2 separate regions of the Homo sapiens genome follow, and region 1 is linked to region 2. The links are contacts of gene promoters, found by promoter capture Hi-C in human tissues and cell types (Jung and others, 2019). All regions are on one chromosome and are shown on one strand. The core of a region is centred on a gene start or on the middle of the fragment in contact, and the rest is flanking DNA. Distances in the headings are between cores, read along the strand shown.

Region 1 (6,693 bases), core at 380-2,879, 300 kb after region 2:
TGGGAGCTGCAGCAGGAGCCGTCCACACTGGCAAGGAACCGTCCCACTGGCAAGGAGCTGTCCACGCTGGCAAGGCCCTCAGAGGCCACTAGGAGCTGTTTGCTGGGCACCACTGAAACTGCGGGCTGGAAGCTCCTCTGGGTGTCCTGAGGGCCAGGCCAGTGAGTGCCGCAGGGGCAGGTAGGAGGCAAAGCAATAGTGCGGGATTGGGAGGTGGCTGCCCGAAGCGTCCTCCCCTCTGAGGAAGGGTCAGTGCAGGAGCAGCGCTGGAGGATACGGCTCTGCGGCTGCAGCTGGACTGGAGGCAGAGGGTGTTTGGAGCACAGAGCCACAGGGGTCCCCAGTGCTGGCTGCTTTGCAGGGCGGCTGGACTGTTTGGTGACTAATGGAAGCACTGGGGAAGCCATTGAAGGGTTTTAATCAGTGGCATGACCTGATCTGTATTTCAGAAAGGTCACTGCGGATCCAGTCTGAAGAGTGGAGTGGGCTGGAGACCCTGGGTGCTGATGCCAGGCGACGGTGGGGCTGGGGAGGGCTGCACAGGTGCGTTTTGTAAAATTATAATGGACACGAGATAGACGCTCGGCATCCTGATCCAGGAGAAGTCTCAACAAGGGACAGCTGGTGTGGCTGAGTGTGTCCGGAAAGAAGGGAGATGGGTTAAATAGTAAAAAATATTAAGACTAATGTTGGTAAATGCTCCTAATCATTTTCTAGATATTAATTATTCCAAATGTTAATTATCTTCGTGACCTTGGTGTGCAAGGACTGGCTGGTGTCCTGAAAAGCACTCTTGGAAGTGCCAGGGTTCCGCTGTGCTGTGCCCCACTGAGATTTCCTTAACAGTCCATCCTTGTCATTCCTGGAGTCTGTATGCGATTCTTCTACTTGCTAAAATGTAGCTGTAAGGCCAGGTGCGGTGGCTCACACCTGTAAATCCAGCACTTTGGGAGGCCGAGGTGGGCTGATCACGAGGTCAGGAGTTCAAGACCAGCCTGACCAATATGGTGAAACCCCGTGACTTTAAAAATACAAAATTAGCTGGGCGTGGTGGTTACTTGGGAGGCTGAAGCAGGAGAATCGCTCGAACATGGGAGGTGGAGGTTGCAGTGAGCCAAGACCACACGGCTGTACTCCAGCCTGGGCGACAGAGCTAGACTCCGTCTCAAAAAAAAAAAGAAGCTGTAATCCCCAAACACTTACTTGCACGGAGCGGCGACAATTCTGAGTCACCGGAGTGCGTTCTTGGCTGAGGTTGCGCAGGGCGGCCTTCTTGCTCCAGCTTGTGCTGCAATCAAGAGCCCTTTTCGTGGTCTATCTGGTGCCATTTTTTTTTTTTTTGCATTTTTGTGCTTTTTGTGGGTGACTTTGCTGTTTGCAATGTCCCCAAGCATTGTCCCGAGGTGCTGCCTCACGTCCTAGGCAAGGAATGCCTGGGTCAGAGAAGCTTTGTCCAGGCTTACGGTGCTTGGCACCGATTGCAATGTTAATGAAGCCACCACGTGCATTCAGTAAGGGATCTTTAAATAGAAACACAGAGAATGAGATGATATATTGATCGGCTGATGAAAACGGAGCCAGAGGCTTGCGGGACCCTAACCCTGTGTGTCTGCTAGCAGCAGGGGCTCAGCGTTCTCTAACTCAGCCTTCGCAGGGGCTCTGCAGACTGGAGCTAAGGTGGGTTGTGAGAAGTGGTGGCAGGTGCAGCCCAGGAGAGCCTTGCAAACAGCTGCCTTAGATGACCGGGTCTCGAGAGCTGTGTCAGACAGCGTGGGGTTGGTTTTCTGGGCCTCCATCGCCTGCTCTTTGGCTGGGGCATGAAGAAGCTAAACGGTGGTTTCTTCCTTGGCCAGGAAAGGAGGACACACTGTTAGGTTTTTCAGTTTCCTAACAGTTGTCCAAAGAGAATCAGAACTGCCAGTGGGAAGAGGAATATTTAAGGGGAATAATCCCGGCTCTGATTATCCACGCATAGGGAGGATAATCCAGTCCAGCCGGCTCAGGGGCTCAGGTGGGTTCCATCACGGTCTTTGTTCACCCATGAGAACGCGGCTGAGGGAGCAGGGGGCCTCATTCCGGGCACATGCGGCCCACACAGCTGTCCTTTTACATTGGTGGCACTCAGGCTGCGGGAGAACAGCGATGGGTTGAGGGGCCGTTGTCAGCACTGCTCCCTCAGGACTCAGGCTACTGCCCGGCCCCGACCTGGCCTCTGACCTCTACAGCATCAGATGCCAGGGATGAGAGTGTTCAGTAGCCCCTCCTGGGTGAGGAAGGATGCACACTGGCCCAGGGCTGGGGACGGGTGTCCGATTTCCATCGATTCCCGTATGAGTGGCCTTTACAGCCTCCCGGGCCTGTGTCTGGATCCTGGAAGAGGTCGCCCTCTGCTGTCCCTACTCAGGATAACAAGCCTCCTGCTCTTCATGATGAGCGTGCAGGGACACTGTTTCTGCCGCACTCAGGGCCCCAAGACCAAATTCTAAAATCTCCCCAAACCTTCAGCAGGGTGGGGCCAACCCTCATGAGACCAATGCATCTGTTTCTGCCTGGAGATCGCTGGGGCTGGTTCACACTTGGCACGTTCGGACTCGCAGATCAAGCTCTGAGGCAGGGAGGAGGCAGCAATGCCCCCTCCACATGCAGGCAGCGCCTGGCAGGTCCGGGGTCACCCCAGAGTGGAGGCCAGGCTCCTGGGCATTCCCCACCCTGGGATCCCTGCACTGTTCTCATCTGTCCTCCGAGAGGGGCAGACGGCAGCGACGGCTGGAGGCCGCACTCATGGGCACTGCAGACTTAGAGAAGCCAAAGTGCGTTTTATGCTGAGCCAAGAGTGAGTGGCAACCCGGAACACAGGTTCCATCGGCTGAGGAGGCAGGAGGGGTGGTTCCACAGCCTGAGAGGGGCAGTGCGCTCAGGGGGACCTCGCAGTCCTGCCTGGCCTCGGTGCCTTGTACACAGGTGGAGTGGACACGTGGCTGGCACACAGGGTGGAAAGCTGGCACCTACTGGAGCCTCAGGGTCTGCAGGGGCGACTGTTCTGTCCTGCCTCATCTGACAGGCACGGCAGTGACCAGGACACGTCAGTGAGACAATGCAGATTCCAGCCTCATAGGCCAGGCCTGCCTCCTACTACCCGTGTGGCCAAACTGCAGCCATCTTGGTCCACTTTTGAAAATGTTTCTTTCGGATCTTTCTGGCTGGTGCCTCTGCTGCGGAATAGCAGCTCCAGTGGGTTACCTGTCAGGAGCGCCCCTGGAGGTGCAGCTTCCCTCGTGCTCTGAATTACTCAGGTGAAGTCAGCAGGAATCCGATTCCCATCTCTGGGAAAAGCACCTCTGGCTTCTTTATCATCAGCCTTTACTTGGCCCCAGGTCTGGGAGAGGTGGCAAGAGTATTACCCTCTTGCTCTAGGGCCATCACGGAAGGAGCCACTTGCACCCCTGCAGGATCACGGGACCCTGTGGGTATCCCCCTGCCTGCAGGAGCCCCCCATTTCCACGGTTCCTGTTGGATCCCCCACTGCAGCTCTGCCTTCGAGCAGGCACCCGGCACAGCCCTGTGGTGCTGTGTCTCGGCCTGCTGCTGCCACAGGACTCGCCGGTGAGGAGCCACGGGGCAGCCCTCCTGCTGGCCACATTTGCAGGAAGTCCCGCCATGGGGTCCAGTCATGACCAGTCTAATGTCCCTTCTGGAGCCTGTGCCGCCCACTTTAGTGCTTGGGCATGGGGTCCTGGGACCACTGGCTCAGGCAGAAGAAGAGAAACCTTTGGGAGGTGGGGAAGGTACAGAGGGTCCAATTGCACCCCCCACACGCCCTCCTCCTTCCCCCAGCCCTGAAGCCTGTGAGCGGCCTGCCTGCCTTCCCCTCAGGCTCAGTCTGAAGACACCCCAGTTAAGCGACTCCACCAACTGGTCACGTTTCTCACACCTGCCTGAATAACCTGTCTTCCAGTGGCCCATTGCAATTTTCAGCATGGCCACAGCTGGACGGGACGAGCAGTGTGGTGCACACGTATGCTTGCCGTGTTTCCTGGACCGTCTCAGTGTCCTGGTGCCAGCAAGAGTGGGTACCTGGATCAGAAGAAGTAGGTCCAAGTCGGCTGAAATTGACAGAGGACTCACCATTCTAAACACCTCATGCTGTTCCCAAGGTTGCTTCTGTTACAAATAAGCCAAGTCCAGAATAGAGTGTCGTGAGAGCGTGAGATACAGCTTAGCTCCTTCCTGGAATCTCTGGAGTGACAAGAGTCTCTTTTGTAGTGAGTGTGATGAAGTTTGGGTTGATCATCAATAGCCAACGATGCAATCAATCATGTATATGTAATGAAGCTTCCATAAAAACCCAAAAGGAGCTTTCAACAGTTGGACGCACGCAGGTGCCTGGAGGACGGCGCCCAGGAGGGCACAGGAGCTCTGCCATTCTCCCCTGTGCCTTGCAAAACCCAAGGAACTTCCCATCTCCAATGCGCGGATGTTGGGTGGAGGCCTGGGGCTGTCTGGAAGCTGCACATGTACGTGCCTGTCTCCTCCACCCCCCGTGCCTCCGCACCTTCGTCACAGCCTGTGTCATAAATGGGTAAACGCAGGGCGGCGTGTCCCTGAGTCCTGTGAACCACTCCAGCAATTCATCAAACCGGAGGAGGGGGTTGTGGGAACCCTGATTCATGGCAGTTCCGTCAGAAGCCACACCCGGGGCTTGCAACTGGCATCAGAAGTGGGGCCCCTTGCACGGGACTGAGCCCTCGATCTGTGGGATCTGACGCTACCTCCAGGCGGATGCGGTGGGAAATGACTTAAACCGTAGGATGCTCAGACAGTGTCCTGCAGCACTGCTTGGTGTGCAGGAAACAAGGCCCTGCCCACATCTGGTGCAAGAGTGCCTGTGGCTGTGTTGGGATGGGAAGAGCTCCTTGGTGTGTCCTGTATTGCTTGGTGTGTCCTGAGTGCTCCCTTGGTTCCGGGCCTCCTGATAGGCCATAGGCACCCAGGGTCCCCCTTGCCTGCTGTGGCCAGGCCTTGTCCTTCGGGGGTGCCACCCAAAGCTATTTGCAAATGCTTTCTGGTCAGCGGTGGATGTGGTTTCTTCTCATGCTAGTTGTTGCGCTGGGCACAAGGGGACCCCATGCTCCCTCCTGCTGGCTCCTTCCCTAACCTGCTGGGCGCATTCTGGGATCTGACCAAGGCGCTACCATTCAACCCCTTCTGAGCTGGCAACAGGAGTTTTTGGCAGGAATTCCCATTCCTGAGGGCACCCTGGGGATTTTCCAATTGTCCAGTTCTCTGGGGTGCATTTGCCTGGCATCCTGCGGGGCCGTTGTCCAGCCCGAGTTGGCAAATCCCTAAACGCCCCCAGAGCAGGGGCCTGACTCCTTTTTCACTCCTTTTCAGCTCCCGCATTAGGGAGGTTGCCTGTCCTGCCTCCACCTGTGTGGCGTGGGGAAGCTGATTTACAAACAGCAGAAGGGCCCCCGGCATGGGAAGAGTCCGGGCCAGGCAGCCTGCTCTGCCGGCTGGGGGACCGCCTGATGCAGGGGCCAGGCCAGGAGGTCCGCGGGGGCTGCTTTACAGCCCTCTGGGCAGCAAAGCAAGCTGGTCTCTGTGCAGCCCACTCCCTGCCATTCCCCACCATGCCCCTCCTATGTCCCTCCCATGCCCTGCCATTCCCCGCCATGCCCCTCCCATTCCCCCGCCATTTGCCGCCATTCCTCACCATTCCCCTCTCGTTCCCTGCCATTCCCCGCCATGCCCCTCCTATGTCCCTCCCATGCCCCTCCTATGTCCCTCCCATGCCCCGCCATTCCCCGCCATGCCTCTCCCATTCCCTCCCATTCCCTTCCATGCCCCTCCCATTCCCCCGCCATTTTTCGCCATTCCCCACCATTCCCCTCTCATTCCCCGCCATTCTCTGCCATGCCCTACCATGCCCCGCCATGCCCCTCCTATGTCCCTCCTATGTCCCTCCCATGCCCCTCCCATGCCCCGCCATTCCCCGCCATTCCCCACCATACCCCTCACATGCCCTGCCATTCCCCGCCCAGACCCTTGGTAACCTGGTCCCTGTCACCCATGCCCCGCTGGGCCCCTCACTGTTGCCGCTGGACATTAAACCCGCCAAGGGGCTTTCATGGGTTGCCCCTCTTTCTCCAGTGCTTCTTCACGCCACCTGGGACGTGGCCAACTTTTCTGGTGTCGGGATCATCTAACGCTCTTCCATGCACAAGAGTTCCAATGACCCACCCACCCAAGCTTCCTTCCCCCATCCCCTACCACTCCTCCAATACCCGTGGGTGCTGCCGGGAAGGGGCGTTGCAGATGTGCCGTGTGTCCCAGGTCAGCCGACCTTAGGGTCCGTGGATGCAGGTGGGCCTGGTCGAATCACGCCAGCCCTTTAAAAGCAGAAGAAGAGTCAGAGGCCAGGGAAGAGTGCTGTGGGGCCGTGCGAGATGGCAGCCTGAACGGTGGAGACCAGGTCCTGCTGACCGCCAGCAAGGAGACGGAGAATGCAGCTCTACAGCCGGGAAAAGAGTCTGCCATCCATCCGAACAGCCCTGGGCCTCCACCCAGGAGCCCAGCTGTCACACCTCAACTGCAGTCTGTGAGACCCCGCCCAGCCGAGCCCTCGCACTCCTACCCCTCTGGAGCTGCCAGGCAGTCAACAGGCACTGACCCACACTGTGGGGTTGTGGTGGC
Region 2 (5,956 bases), core at 3,206-5,705:
TGATCAGCTCCGCACAGCAAACGCGGGCACTGGGGGTGTGGGGGTTCTCCCACCTAAATACATGCCCCAAAAATGACACTCCAGACCCCACGCGAGGCTCTACGCAGTTCCGAGCACTTACTCTTGGGGCAGCAGGGTGAGGTTCAGGAGGTCCACGCATGGCCTGGCAGGGTTAGCTCAGCCCTCCTGCGCAGCTGTGCTCTGGCAGGGGTGGAGGAGCCGTGCCAGGAGGGTCCCCTCAGGCCCCTCCCTGCAGTAAAATGCATGAGCTCAGGGCCCCAGCAGACAGCAGACTGCGTGGGGTCCCATGGTGGACAGCAGAGGGAGCTGTGGGGTTCAGCTGGTGAGCACCCCAACCTCCCTGTCCCTCCTCGTACCAGGTTTCCCTCCACCCAGAGCCCTCTGGGGGCCCACGATGACTTCCTGGGCCCTACACCAGCCCCCATGGGCTCTGATCTTGACCCAGCCACCCTGGGCCCTTCCAGGCCCCTCCCAGGCAGTGGCTCTGGGCTCCCTGCTCCCCGGCCTGAAGGGCTTGCCCCTCCATCTGCTCAGGTGTCTGTGAGGCCCCCCAACCCCACCAACCCAGAACTCCCCACCTAGCCAAGCTTCCGCCTTCTCACAAACGAGTGTGGGGGACAGGCCCTGAGGTAGCCTCATGACGCACCCCCCTGCCCAGCGTTCCCACCCTTGGGTGACCCCTTTCCTCCGACAGACTCCTGGAGGGTGGCCAGATGCCGCAGCTGTGATCACGGCACCTTACGCCCCGCTGAGAGCCTCTCCCTGCTGGCCCGAGGCGTCAGGGCCTGTGCTGGGGCTGCACCTGGTGAGGAGCTCAGGGTGGCCTCCAGCCTCCAGCCAGCAAGAAGCCGGTCCTCAGTTGTACAGATTTAAGGAAATAATTCTGCCAACAGCCTGACGATGCCTGGTGGCACAGCCCTTCTCGTCCCACGTTGAAACTGTAGCCCGGCCACCTCCTAGACTGCACCCTGGACGGGGGCTCCTGCTAAGCCCTGCCTGGACACCTGGCTCACAGAAGCCACAAGACCATAAATGTGTGTTAAGTTACTAAACGTGTGGTAATTGGTGAGACAGCAATAGAAGGCAAATCCACTATCATTTTACTCATTATTATTATTTGAGACAGAATCACTCTGTTGGCCAGGCTGAAGTGCACTGGCGTGATCTCGGCTCACTGCAACCTCCGCCTCCCGGGTTCAAGCGATTCTCCTGCCTCAGCCTCCCAAGTAGCTGGGACCACAGGTGTGCACCACCACGCCCGGCTAATTTTTGTATTTTTTAAGTAGAGACGGGCTCTTGCCAGGTTGGCCAGGCTGGTCTCAAAATCCTGACCTTGTGATCTGCCCACCTCGGCCTCCCAAAGTGCTGGGATTACAGGCATGAGCCACTGTGTCCGGCCTCATTTTACTTACTATTTTTATGGCTGATTTTCTGTTCTCTGAGGCCCACTCGGCAGACTGTATTTTCCAAAAACACTACAACAGTGCATCTCAGCCCACAGGCCCCTTCCTCACATGACCTACACAGGCAGTGTCCGTACCCCTGCCCAGGGGGGTGGCCGACCTCTACACACGAGGACCACCAGCATGGTGCAGTGTTCTGAGGCACATGCACCCCTCCACCTTCCTCGGATGCACACACTGGGAACCAGCAGCCATGCTGTGAGGAAGCCCAACCAGCTGCAGGGAGCAGCCCTGTGGAGGTGTCACAAGCAGCTGTTTTGGCCGACAGCTCTCACCATCTGCCAGGCCTGGGTGTGAAGACCCTGCCCAGTGGCACCATCCATCAGCTGTCCCGTTACCCCAACCCCCAAGTCCTCCCAGCTGTCAGGACCAGAGGCAAGCTGTGCCCCTATTCCCAGGACACATCTCCCCCTTACAGAGCCCATGGATGAAATAATACTTGTGCCATCAAGCTCCAGGGGGCTTCTCAACAAGGGACCCTGGCCACCTCCCTGATGGGATGTGCCCCCTAGGCAGGCTGGCTGACGTACTCTAGGTGCTCAAGAGAAGCCTGTTGGGTGCATTGAGTTACCCAGCCACACAGACTGCCCCTGCAGAATTCTGTGAGGACCAAATGCTGAAAGTTTGGAGGGTGTGAGAAGCCCTTGGGTTGGGAGGCTGGCGGGAAGGGAAAGCGCTTCTGGGAGCCCAGGGAACAGCGGAGCACAGGCGAATTCTAGGGAGCCATCCTGGCTTGGTGGTGACAGCACCAAGCCTCAAGGAGGGCTTGGCAGGCTTGGGGCGGATGGGTTGGGGTCAATCTTTGAGGCCACCCCAGCCTCCACCACCTTCTCCCACCTCTCAGAGCAAGATGAGGCACTTAGGCTTCCTGTGGGTGGTGGCGGGATGGGGGTGCCACTGAGTCCAAGCATGGCTGTGGGGTCAGCGTCCCTCAGCCTGAGGTCACAGCTGTGGCCCCGGGGAAGGTTCCCACTGCAACAGCCTGGGGTCAGGCGTCTCCTTCATTCCCACGGGTGTGCTGGAGTCCTCCTGGGCTGGTGACCAAACACCCTCTCCTGGTCTCCTTGGCCTGGCAGGAGCCACAGTGCGATGGGCGGGAGGGGGGGACAGTGGGGACACAGCCCGGTGCAAACACTCTCTCTTTCCTCCTCAACCCCCTTTCCAGTGTGCCCCAGGGCCTCCAGGGTGTGGTACCCAGAAATGCTGCTAGACCCTTGGAGGGGCCGTGGGAGGGCCCTGTAGCCCCAAGGCCTCTCCTGGGGCTGCAGGTGCAGACAACCTGGACTACCACCAGCTCCACTGCGCGGCGGCATCCTCCCTTCCCGGGCCTCCCTCTCAACACGGGGTGCCATAAAGGAAACCCCACACCCCTGGCTGGCTGACCACTCGTGTGGTCTCAAGTCCAGGTACCCAGTGTGGGGACTTGGCTCTGCTGCATGCCCACTTCATTTCTTCATCTGTAGAAGGGTGGGGAGCTCAGAGCCCCCTCTGGGACAGGATCGGGGGAGAGGGGTCCCTGCAGGTGGGTCCTCATGCTGTCCTTGGCCCTCCCTTGCGGGGAGGAAGGCCTGGTCTTCCCAAATCAGCAGTCCCAGCTCTGCCCAGAGGAGTGGGAGGGCCCAGGGAAGGGCCAGGGACACCCCGAGACACCTTAGGAAGCAGATGTTCAGTCCTCACTTCATGACAGTCTTCTTGTTACAAAACAATAGATCTTTGTAGAGGGAAGGAGGTGAGAGCCTGGTACTAAATCTGCGGCGCCGTGACCAGGCCTCCCTGTGGCCTCTGCGCAACTCCTTCCAGGCTTTTTTTCTCTACACAGGTGGTTACATTTTAGACTTTTTTTTTTTTTTTTTAAATTGCTGAAGTCATAGAACAGCAATGGAGAGAATTTCGAGAAGAAACAATAGGCCCACTTCGGGTCACCGGCCTTGTAACTCCTGGCGCAACCCTCCCATCACCCGGCTCGCTGGTGTCGGGGACCTGGGGTCACAGGCCCACCGCCCATCGTCACCTCCTTTGCCCCGTGAACCGGAGCCGTCTCCTCCCAGCAGGTGCACGGCCGCCAGGTGGAAATCCCCGCCTTCCCGTCTCAGTTACCCCCCGTCCCACTCCAGGCCCAGCAAGGCGCCTCCAGCCCTGCGGGGGGCGAAAGTGGGCAGTGGTGGCCGCTTGGGCGGGGATTCCTAACGCCCTGAGGGGCTGCCAGCCCGTGGGCCCCGCCCCCGCCGCTCGCACCCACCCGCGTTGTCCCGCGACCCCCACAGTCCTGCGCTCTCCGCGGCCCCCCACAAGCCGGCCCTCCGTCCCCGGCCCCTCGCGCCGCCCCGCACGCGTGTGTCCCCCTCCGCCCGCCCCGTGCTTCCCGGTGCCCGGAGGTGCCGGCAACTTTGTTGACCAAATTCCTGAACGCGTCTGAGCCGCGGGCTAAAAATAACCGGCTCAGCGCGCCGCGCTCTGCCGGGCCGCGCGGTGTCACCCGTGTCCAGAGGCCCGGAGGTCCCGCTGCCGCCGCCGCCGCCGCTAGCGGAGCTGCCCCCGGCCCCCAGGCCCGGCCGCAAACCCAGGGGGCCGAGGGGGCGTCCCGCCGCGTGGCCCGAGGCGGACGAGGCCCCGAGGGGGTCCCCGGGCGCGGTCCCCGTCTGCTTCCCCGGACTCTCCGGCCGCCGGGTGTGGGAGCTGAGGCCCCTGGAGACGGCAGTTGTCCCCTGAGGCGGCGCGCCCTCTGCCCGTGCAGTGCCCCGTGATGGCCACCAGAGGGCCCTGCCCTCTCCTCTAGCCGGCGGCCCGTCCCTACCTCTTCCCACAGCTGTTTCCCGCAGGAGATTGACAGCTGGGCTCTGAGTTGCCATGGGGATAAGCAAATGAGGGCGGCGGGGCTGGGGCTCCGATTGGCCCGGGGGCGCGCGCCCCTCCCGGGGAGGCGGGCCCAGGCACCCGGCTCTATAAAGGGGCGCGCGCGGCTTCGCGTTTAGCCGTGGGAGGCGGGGCCGGCCGGCGGCGCGGGTGGGGCGCGGGAGCGGTCCCGGAGCAGCCCGAGGCGGCGGCCGCGGGGAGGAGGCGGCGACGCGGGCCCGGGGTCGCCCGAGACACCTGGCCAGCGGTGCCCCTAGCGCGCCGCCCCGGAGTTGACCACGTGAAACTTTTCCCTGCGCCCCTCGGCGCCGCCGCCCCGCGCCGGCGCCCCCCCGCCCCCGCCGGGACCGCCGCCCGCGGGGAGCAGGGGGGGGAGAGGCCTGCAGCTCCCCCCCCACTCCCACGCCGCCCGTCGGGGCGCGGCCGGGCGCGGGCCCCGGGCGATGGCCGCGGAGCTGGCGATGGGCGCCGAGCTGCCCAGCAGCCCGCTGGCCATCGAGTACGTCAACGACTTCGACCTGATGAAGTTCGAGGTGAAGAAGGAGCCTCCCGAGGCCGAGCGCTTCTGCCACCGCCTGCCGCCAGGCTCGCTGTCCTCGACGCCGCTCAGCACGCCCTGCTCCTCCGTGCCCTCCTCGCCCAGCTTCTGCGCGCCCAGCCCGGGCACCGGCGGCGGCGGCGGCGCGGGGGGCGGCGGCGGCTCGTCTCAGGCCGGGGGCGCCCCCGGGCCGCCGAGCGGGGGCCCCGGCGCCGTCGGGGGCACCTCGGGGAAGCCGGCGCTGGAGGATCTGTACTGGATGAGCGGCTACCAGCATCACCTCAACCCCGAGGCGCTCAACCTGACGCCCGAGGACGCGGTGGAGGCGCTCATCGGCAGCGGCCACCACGGCGCGCACCACGGCGCGCACCACCCGGCGGCCGCCGCAGCCTACGAGGCTTTCCGCGGCCCGGGCTTCGCGGGCGGCGGCGGAGCGGACGACATGGGCGCCGGCCACCACCACGGCGCGCACCACGCCGCCCACCATCACCACGCCGCCCACCACCACCACCACCACCACCACCACCATGGCGGCGCGGGACACGGCGGTGGCGCGGGCCACCACGTGCGCCTGGAGGAGCGCTTCTCCGACGACCAGCTGGTGTCCATGTCGGTGCGCGAGCTGAACCGGCAGCTCCGCGGCTTCAGCAAGGAGGAGGTCATCCGGCTCAAGCAGAAGCGGCGCACGCTCAAGAACCGCGGCTACGCGCAGTCCTGCCGCTTCAAGCGGGTGCAGCAGCGGCACATTCTGGAGAGCGAGAAGTGCCAACTCCAGAGCCAGGTGGAGCAGCTGAAGCTGGAGGTGGGGCGCCTGGCCAAAGAGCGGGACCTGTACAAGGAGAAATACGAGAAGCTGGCGGGCCGGGGCGGCCCCGGGAGCGCGGGCGGGGCCGGTTTCCCGCGGGAGCCTTCGCCGCCGCAGGCCGGTCCCGGCGGGGCCAAGGGCACGGCCGACTTCTTCCTGTAGGCGCCGGACCCCGAGCCCGCGCCGCCGTCGCCGGGGACAAGTTCGCGCAGGCCTCTCGGGGCCTCGGCTCGGACTCCGCGGTACAGGACGTGGACACCAGGCCCGGCCCGGCCG

Evidence for each region. The method cuts DNA at HindIII sites, captures the fragments that hold promoters and counts their contacts. A contact is called where the count stands out against the background at its distance.
Region 1: a contact is called between a fragment that was not itself captured here and the fragment with the promoter of MAFA in region 2, in 1 of the 25 tissues and cell types used here (dorsolateral prefrontal cortex).

Annotation. Positions count from the first base shown.
Region 1 is chr8:143,126,898-143,133,590 of GRCh38, reverse strand. No RefSeq gene overlaps it. Among named protein-coding and RNA genes, the nearest start is that of LY6H, 30 kb to the left of the region's middle. RefSeq lists an enhancer at 6,138-6,693. The HindIII fragment of the contact is 7,324 bases long and covers 1-5,291 here.
Region 2 is chr8:143,429,231-143,435,186 of GRCh38, reverse strand. MAFA (MAF bZIP transcription factor A) reads left to right here and starts at 4,455. Exons shown (of 1, transcript NM_201589.4): 1 at 4,455-5,956. The coding sequence starts at 4,781. The coding sequence ends at 5,842. RefSeq lists a silencer at 4,099-4,538. The HindIII fragment of the contact is 28,870 bases long and covers 1-5,956 here.